3 separate regions of the Homo sapiens genome follow, and regions 2 and 3 are each linked to region 1. The links are contacts of gene promoters, found by promoter capture Hi-C in blood cells and fetal thymus (Javierre and others, 2016). All regions are on one chromosome and are shown on one strand. Each heading gives the region's core, a stretch centred on a gene start or on the middle of the fragment in contact. The rest is flanking DNA. Distances are from core to core; before and after follow the strand shown. Region 1 holds the start of FLG (filaggrin). Region 2 has its middle 16 kb from the start of TCHHL1. Region 3 has its middle 42 kb from the start of CRNN.

What was found. Contacts are between HindIII fragments. The CHiCAGO score rates a contact against its expected background, and 5 or more counts as called.
Region 2: a fragment that was not itself captured here is called in contact with the fragment with the promoter of FLG in region 1 in 5 of 17 cell types (total CD8 T cells, naive CD8 T cells, non-activated CD4 T cells and 2 more); the score reaches 5.6 in total CD8 T cells.
Region 3: a fragment that was not itself captured here is called in contact with the fragment with the promoter of FLG in region 1 in 2 of 17 cell types (total CD4 T cells and activated CD4 T cells); the score reaches 6.3 in total CD4 T cells.

The regions. Positions count from the first base shown.
Region 1 is chr1:152,323,075-152,327,750 of GRCh38, forward strand. It overlaps FLG (filaggrin), which reads right to left and starts at 2,165. Exons shown (of 3, transcript NM_002016.2): 1 at 2,115-2,165. The region is part of intron 3 of CCDST (cervical cancer associated DHX9 suppressive transcript); the gene reads left to right. The HindIII fragment of the contact is 6,016 bases long and covers 1,597-4,676 here.
Region 2 is chr1:152,071,113-152,075,788 of GRCh38, forward strand. No RefSeq gene overlaps it. Among named protein-coding and RNA genes, the nearest start is that of TCHHL1, 16 kb to the right of the region's middle. The HindIII fragment of the contact is 1,328 bases long and covers 1,451-2,778 here.
Region 3 is chr1:152,453,670-152,458,345 of GRCh38, forward strand. No RefSeq gene overlaps it. Among named protein-coding and RNA genes, the nearest start is that of CRNN, 42 kb to the left of the region's middle. The HindIII fragment of the contact is 3,652 bases long and covers 780-4,431 here.

The sequences.
Region 1 (4,676 bases), core at 915-3,414:
TAATGGCAAAGATGGTAGTGTAGGTCAGTAGAGAAAGAATAGTCTTGAATAAATGGTGCTGGGTTAATTGAATTTTCAAATGGAAAAAAAATAGTTTCCAGGTTGATTTTACATGTAAGAGATAAACGAAGATAACATTGGAGAATATCTTCAGGACCTCGGGGTGGGGAAATACTTAAATAAAATTCAAAAAGTACTAATTAATAAGAAAAAGACTGATAAATTGTACTGCATTAAAAGTAGGAATGTTTATTCTTTTAAAGATAGCATTAGAAGAGAGATGTACAAGCCACACAGTGGGAGGATATACAAAACACATTTAACCAATAAAGGAATCTGTCCTGAATATAAAAATAGCTTCTATAAATCAATAAAAAATACAGTTAACTCAATGGAAAAATGAATACCTTAGGAACGTTACAGAAAAGGATATCCAAATGGCCAATAAACATATCAAAACTTCTCAACCTTGTTATGCACTAGGGAAATGCAAATTGAAATAACGTGTGAGACCTCAATACACCCACCAAAGTGACTAAAAAGATAAGAAAGAAAAAAATCCTTGACAATACCAAATATTGGTGAGAATGTGGAGAATTGAGATTTTTTTTTTTTTTATGTACTGCTGGAGGCACATAAAGTGACAGAAGCACTTTGGAAAATTGTTTGACAGTATCTAAGTCCTAGCGATTTACTCTTAGGAATATTCCCAACTGAAATATGTACATATGTGTAACCAAAAGTAGTACACAAAAAAGTGCATAGCCCTATTATTTATAATACCCCCCAAAATGGAAGAGACCCAAGTATCTACCCATAGACAAATGGATGAATAAATTGTTATATTTTCAGATAACATAATAGTCAGTGTTGGGAGATGAAGGTAGACTGGACTAGGATGATAATGGCAGAGAGGGGGATAAATGGATAGATTTGGCAGGTTTGTAGGCAGAGTTGACTGGACGTGGTGATGAATCAGTGTGATGAGAAAACAGGAATCATGGATAACTTCTAGATTTTGGTATGAGCAAACAGTTATTTCTCGTTATTTCTATTATTTCCATCATCTTTCACATAAAAGAATGCAGTCTCTCCCTGCTCCTGCTCTTGCCTTCCTATATTCCTGTTTTCCACGTAGCAGCCCAGAGTGGTCTTTTAAAAACATAGATTATCTTACTCCTCCTGCTTAATACCCCTTTAAGTACATGCTAAAATCTAACATGTACTGTTTTAATTCTACTGTGCCCCTCTTTACATGAGCTACGCTGTCTAGCTCTCTGACATCACCATATACCACTGGTCCTCTTTTTAACTATGTATGCTCTAAGGCACACTAGCTTCTTTTTGCTCTTTGGGACAAGTTTACTCTTGCTTAGAATCTTGCCCTTTGCCTTGGCTAGTTTCTTTTGTGTTTAAGATCTCAACTCAAAGATAATTCCCTAGAGAGGTCTTCCCCTGGCCATCTAATTTAAAGCACTTTCCTCCTCCCTCCCATCACTTTACTACAAGCTTGTCCAATCTGTGGCCCAGGACAGCTTTGAATGTGGCCCAACACAAATTTGTAAACTTTCTTAAAACATTACGAGTTTTTTTTTAAGCTTATCAGCTATTATTAGTGTCAGTGTGTTTTATGTGTGGCCCAAGACAATTCTTTTTCCATTATGACCCAGGGAAGCCAAAAGACGGGACACCCCTGCTCTACTACATCACTCTTTTATTTTCTTCATTGTTCTTATCACTATTTAAAATTATCTTATTTGTTTATTGTTGTTTACTAAATGTTTCCCCCTATTAAAGGTAAGCTGCTAGGAGTTTATATAGTTCACTGCTGCATAGATAGAGCCAAGACCAAGTAGAAGGTAGTTAATACATATTTGTTAAGTAAATGAATAAATGGACAATCTAACAATACAGAGTATTGAGTAGCTCCATGGAAAGCAAATTTATGCCCTCATTTTCCTTCTATATAGAAATAAACCTTTTAGTGACAGTGCCACTAAAAAGAAAGAGAAAAACCCTAAACTTCCAGAACCTTTTGCCTTACAGTACACATACATTCAGATTTCCACCTTGGTTAATAGTAAGTAGACAAAATTAAATGTATTCCTTCTTACCTTGTTCACCAAAAGAGCAAATAGAATGTAGCCTGAAGGAGCCTGCTGGGTACTGAAGGCTGAGATAATGGCCCTTTTATAGCAGGCCCCATGCAGGGAGGAGCCACCCTCTGTGGGATGGTCTGATTCATTCCTAACCAAACCTAGATCCACCCATATCTCCACCTCTATTTCTCCAGCAACCTGTGTTTACTTCCCAGCTTCCTCACGTACTCATCTGTACTTGTTTCAGCAAGTTCCAAATTTGGGTTTACATATTGGAAATTTTATGGAAGGGTCCCTTTGGCTAATACAGGTTGTTTGTGTGCAGGGCCCATACCTACTTTTCTGTAACCCCACTTTGGCTTGACAGGTGCTTGGTAAATATCTATTGATAAATACACTTCCTGATCCTTGTCTCTAGAAGAGTAGGACATATTAATACGTTTATAAGAACTTGAAATTCAATTTATGATAGGAAAACATCACAAGCATCTACATATATGTTCTTTTTTAATCTATGTATTCCATCTTTGGGTACTGAAGAACTTGCCATGAGATGAATGCCGTCTTCTAGAAATTATGGTCAGTAGAGGATAGGCAAATTTAATTTTAATTTTTCAAAGCAGAGCAAGAATGTGAACAATTGAACTAGAAGTGGTGATCACTAGGAGCATGAGTTTAATTAGGCAAGACTCATTAGTGTAATTTTACTTTGTTTTCAAGGTTATTACATCGTGGCATCAGAGACATGTTCCACATACTCTTCCTTCTTAAACCATGAATTTTCTTTTATTGCCATAAATATACAGGGGACTCCTATCCCTGGTCTGTCTTATGATATACACACTGTTATGTTGAGCAGATTGCATCTCCATATGGATGTCCCATGGTTATCTCAATCCATAGTGTTGAAAACTGAACTTACATTGTGCCTCCTACCAAAATGTACTATCCTCCAGAAGCCCATATATTGGTAATGATGCCCCCACACACTGGGTGTCTCAAGCTAGACAAAGTCATTTTCATTTCTCCTTTTCCTTAACCCCTCATGCTCATGTCACATCGTATCAATTATACTCAGGCTTAGATTTTGTTATGTAGGCCTATTCTCTACCTCCAGTGCTATAATTTTAGTTCTGGACCTGACCATCTTTCAATTGGGTATTGGTAAAGAAAAAAAAGTGTCGTAACTAGCCTCTCTCTCTACTATTAAGCTGGCTTACCATCTTATGTCATTCGCTGTGCTGGTTTCTTCTTGCCTGCAGAATTTCAGACTTTTTTACCTGACGTACAAGCCCCTTTACAATAGGCATGAATCTGTATCTTTTCAATTGTCCCTCTTATTACCTGTATCTCATGGAAAAGTCACTCTAGAATGAGCAATATTTCTTGGACGAGCCCATATTGGTCCACTACTGTTCAAAATCTTTGCGTGCTATCCTCCACTACCTTGACTTGAGAGACCCTCATCCTTAACTTCTCTTTATCTTTTAAGATTCTTCAAAATTACCACCTCCTGCATAAAGCCTTACCTGACATCTCCAGATTTATCAGTGTTCCCTCACATACTCTGTATTTACCTCTCAATAGCACTGGTGATATTTTATATTAATTACTTATTTATATGTGTGCCCCCTGCCCCCTGGTGCCTTGAATCCTGTGTTTCTTCTCACCCTAGCATTGACTGGGTCTGAGTCATCCTTTGTGTCCTTGGGCCCTACAGCAATGCCTGGGACATGATCAAATAAGGGATGCAAGGGTGTGCCAATCTTGTTCAGAGTCAAAGAGATAAAAATATGCCCGAGTTTTTAAAACTGTGTTTAATGTCCTCGTTCTTAACCTTATTAGACCATTGATTCTTTCTTTTGTGGAGTATTGGTTAACATCTGTAGAACACAGATATTCATTTTCTCCTTTTTTCTTCTTGGGTCTAATTTTTTTATGCCAGTAGTTATTGCATTTTTGTCTCTACCATGATGTAATAATGATAGTAATCTATATTGTATACCCATTATGTGCTAGGAATGTGCTAAGATTTTGCGTGTATTAATTTTAATCATCAGGACAACCCTTTGAGGTCATTATTATTCCTCTATTTTAGAGATGAGGGAACTGATACTGATAAGGCACCCAAGGTCACCAAGCAAGTAAGTTACAGAACTAGGATTTAATCTGAGGTTATTCAGACTCCAACTCCCACATTATTTCCACCATGGCATATTGTTCTGGGTGTGAACTTTTATCCTTTTTTTGTTAACCTTATTTATATTTTTAATGTTTTAAACAGTGATTTCTCTCAAAGTACCTATGTCTGGGTGAACTTAACTGTGGAAATCATTGCAGGATCAGCAGAAAGACTAGACCATGGACTATGAGTGAGTGAAGAAGGTAGCATTGAGAGAGTGTCAAGAATGAGGCAATCTTGGATATGACCTTCTTTGGGGCCAAAAGACCCCAAATCTTGCAGAATTATGTCAATATGGAGGGTATTGTTTAGTGGTCTGCTCTAGGACTTTTTTCCTGACCATGTTGTGCTCATTGTATTTTATCAATAACTTAGGTGAAAATTTGGATAGATGG
Region 2 (4,676 bases), core at 865-3,364, 250 kb before region 1:
TACCACCCACACTGCCTGTACAAACAGGACATTTTCTGACCCAGAGTCCATGTGCAATGGTGACAGAATGACTTCTGTGGTGACACTCTTCTGATGACGTGGTCTTTGCCCCTCAGCGTCAAGGTTTGTCTTGACACTGCCTGGGAGGAGTTTCCTGGAAAGTGTCCACAGCCATGATTACAGATAAGAGGAGACTGCCAGAGTCATTTGAAGGCATCAAGTTGTCTGTAGGAGAAGCTTGGTGATTGGAGGAGTTGCTGCTGGGGTGGCTATCCTGAGTGCACATTTGGACTTTGCCTGCTCTGTGACCTCAGGCATCTTACCAAATCCCTCTGAGCCTCAGCAGTGGGATCTAGTGGTCACCATTTCTTGGATGTGTCATAAGGATACGGTGTGGCTCAGGGAAGCACTGGATTATAATGTGTTTTAAGCTCATTCTGAAGAAAAGCACCGTGCAAATCCCAGTTATTATGTTTATTATGAGGTTCAGCATGATTAAATGCAAAGAATTTGTTCCATCTGAATGAGGCTTTTAAAAATACACTGGGGCCAGTAATTACAGAAATGTAGGCTCCCCTAAACATGTTCCCAATTAGGAAGGGATGTAACTGAATGAACTGGGGCATGGCGGGGGACTCTCAGATCCTTGACATGTTCTTGGTCAGCTCAGTCAAGCTTTTCTTGATCAGAAAATGGAAAAAAGCAGAAAATTCTCATCCCTTGTGTCTTTCTTAGAAGAAGATAATAAACCCAGTGGCCAAAGAATGTTAACATTTAACTGATTTTCCTTATGTATCAGGACCTTTTTCTGAAACTATGATTGTTAAGGATTTTAAGTAAGACCCAAATCAGTATGGGGTATGATTTTCTTGTTTGTGATTAAAACATATGGAAGTAATTATAGATCTCAAAGTAATTTTTATTTATACACAAATAATACATACGTTCCTGATCCTTGAAAAAATTGAAACATTACTTGATGACATCTAAGACTTCTTTGACTACTACTGTCTCTCCTGATTCCCTTTTACTTTTCTCAGAGGCAATGACCATTATCAGTTTGGTGTTTTTCTTTCTGAGCTTTTCCGTCTTTAGAAGTAGAGAAAACCAAGGTGGACATGGTACGCAAGTCTCCACATGGTTTTCTTCTGTGGTTTAGCCTCATCTCCTGGGCCAGATCATATGCTTCTTGAGACCAGAAACCACATGAACTCCTTGATCTGATTCCACACCACTCCCAGGCCTGGAATAGAATCATGGAGAAGTGAGGGGAATGGTGAGGAACAGTTAACTAAACGCTTGTTTGAGAAAAATTATTGTCCTGCAGTTTACTCAAATAGAGCTAGTAACTCGGCTGGGCAAGTTTCAGATTCTGTGTTTCAAAACCACCTCAACCCACCCAGTGGAAACCAGAATATTCTCATGGCTTTACAAAAACGCCTGAGCTTTAAGCTTGATCTAAAGGGCTCAGCAAAGAAGCATTGCTCCTGAGAGGCTTCCTGTCTGCCTCAAGCTCCCTGTCTCAGCCTCCAGGTAGCCTCATCCTCATGCTCCACTTGCCCAGACATGGACCTCAAAGAAACTCCTGTCCACCTTCTTGGGGGTCCCTTCAGGGGTAGTTGTGTGTCATCAGCCACCCTCAGAGTTGGCTCTGAAACATTCCCCGGTTTCTCCTTCAGTGGTTTGTGGAGGTCAGGAAGAAATGCATGTGATATTTTCTGAAGGTTCTGGACAATCCTAATGTTGTCATGAAGCCTGCTGGCCCCTTTAGGCAACATACACACCCAGACATATATCGATAGTGATGGAAGAATTCCATCTTTTCTTCAAATTCTCTTCTCTATTTTTACTTTCTTTCCTTAAAATGGTGCCTAGGATGGGTCCTTGTGGAAAGGACAGTGCTGGGGTTGCAACTCCTATCTCAGTGCTTTGACAAGCCCTCAAGAAATAAGGTTTATGGCTGTTTTTAGGAGACTCCATCACAGGCCCTCCTCACCATCCAGGCTTCTCTCCTGTTTGCCCATATCTGGAATAGGACTGACTGTACTCCTGGCTCTCTGAGCACCACACCCTCTCGCCTGCCTCCATGCCTTTGTTAATGCTGGTCCTTTCGGCCTGAGAGGAACCAGGCCCATCCCTGCTGGCCAAGCTCCATCTTCTCCTGGGAGCCTTCCCTGGTGACTTGGTTGGGTCCACACTTCGCTGACCTCCTCTTTTCCCACTGTCACCATCATTGCTTATGACATTCCTACCATACTATCCTCCTTGTTGTTCCTTGAATGTGCTAGGCATGCCCATCTCCAGGCCTTAGTACGTGCCGTTTCCTCTGTGAAGTGCTCTTTTCTGAAGTGCATGGTTTCCTTTCTCACCTTCTGCAGGTCTCTGTTCGGGTGTCATCTGACCTTCCTCTCTTAAACAGCAACACTCCCACTTCCCCTGACTCCCTCCCTACCCTCCTACTCTGCTTTTTACTCTCCCTAACATTTATCCCACATGAGTTAGTATACAATTGTTTGTCTATCTGTTTATTTTCTATTTTCCCCATTAGAATGTAGAAACATGAGGGCGGGAACTTGGTCTGCTTTGTTCACCGCTTTATTCCCAACACCTAGAAATTGCTTACCAGGTGGTAGTCATGTAGTAAATATTTGTTGAAAAACAAATCAACAACTCTAACTACCATATTTTGCCCCCCTGAAAAAAAAGTTTCTACACTGATTATGGGTGCCATGCCCAGCCAGGCCTGCACTGAGGCATTTGGCAGGAGTTGGATGATGAAGCTTTATACATGCCCTGAGTTGTGTGCTCTCCAGTTGTTTCATGAGCAGGTCTTGTCTTAATTATATTGTGAGCTACTTGGGGGTAGAAATCAAATTTTGTTCTTCTTCTTAACTACTTAACACTTGAAATGCGTCTGGGTTCCATTAGTGATTATTTGTTTATTGTTCCAAAAAAGAACTAAAGGTTGCCAATGGGGGAGTCACAGTGTGTGGTCATTAACTGCTTATTGACTGATTGATTAGTGATGGCAAATCCTGATGAGGTAGATTGACTCTAAGGACAGAGTGGATGTGGCTGTTGGAAGATGCATTTGGGTCCTTATGTAAAATTCTGGGTTCTCCTTGCAGGGTGTGATATCTCTGACTGGTGTCTGAATGTCCGTGGCTCTTTCTTCCACCTTCCTAACCTAGATTCTGACAAATATATTCCTGGCATTAAGAGTGGTTGTAAAACTAGAAACATATATCACTGTATATAAACCAAAGTATGTCTTTATCCACTACTTATAGTCTTTCAGAGAGACTTAATTTTCCCTTTTTAGTGTTATTCATTTACAGCCTCTTCATATAGATTTGAAGCAGCTTATCATATACAGTAAAGTGGTTAAATAAAAAAGGTAGAAAATAAGAACTAGGAAAAAGGAAAATTCAAATTTGTCAACCATGAGGGTCAACACAATTGCTGTTATTACTCTTCATTCTTGGCTCAGGGATTTCTGACAGCAATTCCCAAAGGAAAACACCATCAGTTTTATGGCCTTCACAATCAGAAAGTAAGATAACTATGTACGCTTTTTGTGGCAAAAGAGAGCATTTCTCAGGACTGAATTCTAAAAAGAATATCTCATGGGGACTTTATAAAGGTGAGTACTGCATGATAAAATGGATAAAGTTCTCAACAGCATTTTGACAGCCAAAGAAGTGGTAAGTTTCACATATGTATTTCTTATAGTTTTGGCAAAAATTGAGCACATGAATGAGGAGGTTTTATTCAGTGGGCATAAAAAAATTAAGGATCTGACTTCAATATGTAACTCGGTGAAAGCTATTATGAATTGTCTATTTTGTTAATCACCATATACCCTGTATACATAGTTTAATAGGTGGTCAATTGTTAAGTTAATAGATGAATAAAGTGTCTCTCATATTTGGTACTATTCCAGCTTCAATGTTAAATAGTAAACAGATACATATTAAGCATCTACTAATTCCAGGTGGTTTGCTGGGCACTTTCATATGTATTGTTCCACTTATTCTCTTTAAACACATTTTCTTATTGAAGAATATTCAGATCATAAGTGTACAGCAATGAATTATTACAAAGTAAACACTTCCATGTAACCACTGCCCAAATCAAGAAATAGAACATTAATCAGGACTCTGAAAGTCCCCATGTTCTTCCCCTTCCCTCCTCCCTAGTGGTACCATTATCCTGACTTCTAATGCCATAGATTAGGGTTTTCTTTTGGTTGTTGGTTTTGAACTTTATGTAAATGCAGCCACTCAGTATGAAGGCTTTTGTGTCTGGCTTAATTTTGTCAACATTATGCTTGTGAAGTTCTTCTATGTTGTGGCATACGGCTTTAATTCTTTCAGTCTCATTGCTGTATAATAGTGCATTGTATGAATATAGCACAATTTGTTGTTGTCCATTTTCAGTTAATAGATCTTTGGATTGTCTTCTCCTTTGGGGTGTAACAAACCGTGCTGCAATGAATACTTTTCAACATGTCTTTTGGTGCATTTCTGTTGGGTTATCTGCCTGGGCTGGAGTTACTTAGTTATGGAGTTTGCATATGTTTAGCTTTAGAGATATTGCCCTACAGTTCTCCTAAATGATTATTGTATCAATTTATTTCTCTACTACTAGTGTGAGAGTTCTAATTGCTCTACATC
Region 3 (4,676 bases), core at 1,356-3,855, 130 kb after region 1:
TCATAAAATCTTTGCCAGGGCCTATGTCCAGAATAGTATTTCCTAGGTTTTCTTCAAGGGTGTTTATAGTTTTAGGTTTTACATTGATGTCTTTAATTCATCTTGAGTTGATTTTTATATATGGTGTAAGGAAGGGGTCTAGTTTCAATCTTCTGTATATGGCTAGCCAGTTATCCCAGCACCATTTATTGAAGATAAATGGTTGAAGATCAGATAGTTGTAGCTGTGTAGCTTTATTTCTGGGCTCTCTATTCTGTTCCTTTGGTCTATGTGTCTATTTTTACCTGTACCATGTTGTTTTGGTTACTGTAGCCTTATAGTACAGTTTGAAGTCAGATAATATGATTCCTCCAGGTTTCTTCTTTCTGCCTAGGATTGTTTTGGCTATTTGGGCTTTTTTTTTTTTTGTTTTACATGAATTTTAGAATTTTTTTTCTAATTCTGACCCTGGTAGTTTGATAGGAATAGCATTGAATCTGTAAATTGCTTTGGGCAGTATGGCCATTTTAACAATATTGATTCTTCCTATCCATGAGCATGAAATGTTTTTCCATTTGTTTGTGTCATGTCTGATTTCTTTCAGCAGTGTTTCCTAACTCTCATTGTAGAGGTCTTGCACCTCTGTTTAGCTGTATTTGTAGGTGTTTTTTTGTTTTGCTTTGTTTTGTGTGTGTGTGGCTATTGTGAATGGGATTTGTGTTCTTGATTTGGCATTCAGCTTGGACATTATTGGTGTATAGAAATGCTACTGATTTTTGTGTACTGATTTTGTATCTAGAAGCTTTGCTGAAGTTGTTTATCAGATCTAGCTTTTGGGCTGTGACTATGGGATTTTCTAGGTATAAAATTATATCACCTGCAGAGATAGTCTGACCTCCTGTCTTCCTATTTGGATGCCTTTTATTTCTTTCTCTTGCCTGCTTGCTCTGGTTAGGACTTCCTCTCTTTATTATGTATTATATTTTCCTTCTTTTCATGCCTGGTAATTTTTTATGGATACCACACATTGTGAATTTTACCATTTGAATGGCTGGATATATTTTTGTTTCTATAAATAAGAAACAAAAGTTAAGTTACTTGGAAACAGTTTGGTCCTTCAAATTTTGCTTTTTAAGATATGATGGGTGGCACCAGAGCAGTGTTTAGTTTAGGACCAATTTTACTACACCACTGAGGCAAAACCTTTCTGAGTACTCTACCCAGTATCCAATAAATTATGATGTTTTCTACTCTAGCTGTTAGGAACAGGGGTTCTTCCTAACTCGGGGTGATCCTGGGATTATTCGCTTTCATTCCTGCAGGGAGGTCCATCCTCTGCCTCAGGTAGTTTCCTCACATACAGGTGCTGATCATAACTCAGCTAAGGATCTGAGGGGAGGCTGTTCCTGATTGTCAGGGCTCCCCTGCCCCCTTCTCTCTCTAGCTCTTGCCTTGCTAGGTGAAGGGGTGGCCTGCCCCTCCACACCTGTGGGTGTTTCTCGTCTGGTGGGACGAGAGACTGAGAAAAGAAAGAGACACAGAGACAAAGCATAGAGAAAGAAAAGTGGGCCCAGGGGACCGGGCGCTCAGTATACGGAGGACCCGCGCCGGCACTGGTCTCTGAGTTCCCTCAGTATTTATTGATCATTATCTCTACCATCTCAGAGAGGGGGATGTGGCAGGACAATAGGGTAATAGTGGGGAGAAGGTCAGCAGGAAAACATGTGACAAATGTCTCTGTGTCATAAACAAGGTTAAGAAAAAGGTGCTGTGCTTTGATGTGCCAATACATAAACATCTTGGTGCATTAAAGAGCAGTATTGCCACCAGCATGTCTCACCTCCAGCCATAAGGTGGTTTTCTCCTGTCTCAGTAGATGGAACATACAATTGGGTTTTACACCGAGACATTCCATTGCCCAGGGATGAGCAGGAGACAGATGCCTTCCTCAGAGTTATCTCAACTGCAAAGAGGCCTTCCTCTTTTACTAATCCTCCTCAGCACAGACCCTTTACGGGTGTTGGGCTGGGGGATGGTTAGGTCTTTCCCCTCCCATGAGGCCATATCCCAGGCTATCACTTGGGGAGAAACCTTGGACAATATGTGGCTTTCCTAGGCAGAGGTCCCTGCGGCCTTCCGCAGTGTATTGTGTCCCTGGGTACTTGAGATTAGAGAGTAGTGATGACTTTTAACAAGCATACTGCCTTCAAGCACTTGTTTAACAAAGCACATCCTGCATAGCCCTAAATCCATTAAACCTTGAGTTAACACATCACAGGTCTCTGCAAGCACAGGGTTGGGGCTAGGGTTACAGATTAACAGCATCTCAAGGCAGAAGAATTTTTCTTAGTACACAACAAAATGGAGTCTCTTATGTCTACTTCTTTCTACATAGACACAGTAACAGTCTGATCTCTCTTTCTTTTCCCCACAGCTAGGCTAGTAGTCTGTCTTGAAAACTCTAGCTGCCTTGGTCTTTTAGGATCCAGTTCCATTTATTCAATCCTGAGAGTCCACTGGACTCTGCCAGTTTCCGCTCCCTGAGTCACAGCCTGGAAACCCTTTGCCGGGAGGAGGCCAGGACAGTCCTAGGGTTCAGCTCATTTTGTTTCATCTTGCAAACATCATGGTCCTGCATTGCTTCAGGTTCATGGTCTTGAAAACTATTGTTCTTTTTATATAGCCATTCCTTGGTATTCACGAGGGATTTGTTCCAAGACCCTTGAAGATGCCAAAATCTGGAGATGCTCAAATCCCTCACGTAAAATGGCAAGATATTTGCATATAACCTATGCACATCCTCCTGTAGACATGAAAACATCTCTAGATTACTTATAATACCTAATATAATGTAAATGCTATGTAAATGGTTGTTATACTGTATTTTTAAATTGTATTTTTATTGTATTTTTTCAAATGTTTTTGATCCATGGTTGGTTGAATCCATGGATGTAGAAGTCAAGTATAAGGAAGGCCAACTATAGCTTGTCAGATTATGTAGTTGTTTCAGGTTACAGGATAAATCCATCCCTGTAACTCCATTCCCATTGGAAGAGGAAATTTCCACTTTATATTTTTGCTAGCATAATACCATTTTTTCTGGTATTTTTCAAAATCACAACCTAACATTGTAATTCTAAAGTATTTAGAGTTATACATCTGTTTAAAATTTCAAATTGGATGAACATGCAATCTCCCCACTAAGACAGGCATTTGCCTTTGTCTGGGTGAGGCTGACCATTGTCTTTTGTGTTTAGCAGTTCCTTATAATCCCTCCATAACCAGCCTGGGTCTCTCTCCACTTCCAGAAGCCTTGACAGACTGTTTTAGAACTGGAGAGATGAGGAGTGGGGGTGAGATGCTAAGAACACACAGGAGAGGGTATGGCAGGAAGGAGGACAAAAGGGCAGGAGTTCCTAGGGCCAAGTCCCACCACTCTTCACCCCCAGCCTGACCACCTCCCTCCCCTCCGGGGCACACATCTCTCTGCTCCTCTTTACAGAGCCTCTTTATTTAACATGTCATGTGGTTCTGGTATCACAGTCACTACTCTTGTTGTGTGGAAGGGCAGAATCTCAGGGGCCCAGGACAGAATAGAAGACTGTTGGTGAGGCAGGACTTAGTCCCTTAGGGAGTTACCAGGCCAGCCCTGCCCCATGCTGTGGCAATCACAGGAGTGTGTGATACAGAGTGCTTGGAGAATAGGACCAGACCACACTTGACAAAATGGTGCCTATGGGGGTGCAACAATAACATGGCATTTTAGGAAGAGGTGGACAGGACAATGAGTTGCTTTGGGGGCTTTGGTCTTGTACACCATGCCTAGGTTCTGAGAGGGCAACTGTACCTTGCAGAATGACTGCCATCTGCCAGGCACAGTGCTAGGCTTTTTACAACCATTACGCCAGTCATTCCTTATGTCAACCTTATGTGGTGTGCATTGTCCTTTTACATTTCACATCTGAAGACAATTAGACTCAAAGGGTTTCAGATAGTTACTCGATGGGACTGGCACTCCAGAGTCTGCGAGGGCAGAGAAGTTTGCTGGGAGACTGAGAGAGTGCTCATGGGATATTGTGGTATGGGAGGAGCTGGAGCCCTATGTTCTTGGCTGGACAAAGCCCTGTTGTGCTCATTTTGGAGATGGCAGGTGGGACCAATCCCATCACAGCAGCTGCCTCAGCAGGGAGATGCCCTGCAAGGGTGAGGTGTGGCCTAGGCAAGGTGTAGGAACTGGAAACTGAGGTAGGGCTGGAGGGGGGGAATATAACAAGAGTGAAAACAGTGCTTGAGGGCAAAAATGTGATGGGGAAAGTAAAAAAAAAGACCTGGAGTCTACACTGAAATTGAGTGGGGGTGAAGAAGTGAAATATTATTTTGGACCATATGAAATTGTTGTTTTGTAGGTAAAATGGTGGATTATGAACAATTTTATGTGTTCAACCTAATGTAAGCTTACTGTGGGTAAGCACCAAATATTAAGTATAGCCCATGGAATGCAGGGTGGTCTAAAGGTGAGTGGCACTGGATCTCAGCATTTGGAATGCCTACCTGTCCCCATATGTATCATCAGAAGGCACCTGTTAAAATATACACGTTACCTAGAAGTAGCAAATATTACCTAGCAACATCCTGGCACAACTGGCTTTATTAAACCAAGTTGTCACTTACTATGACAACAGCTATATAAAGTGACT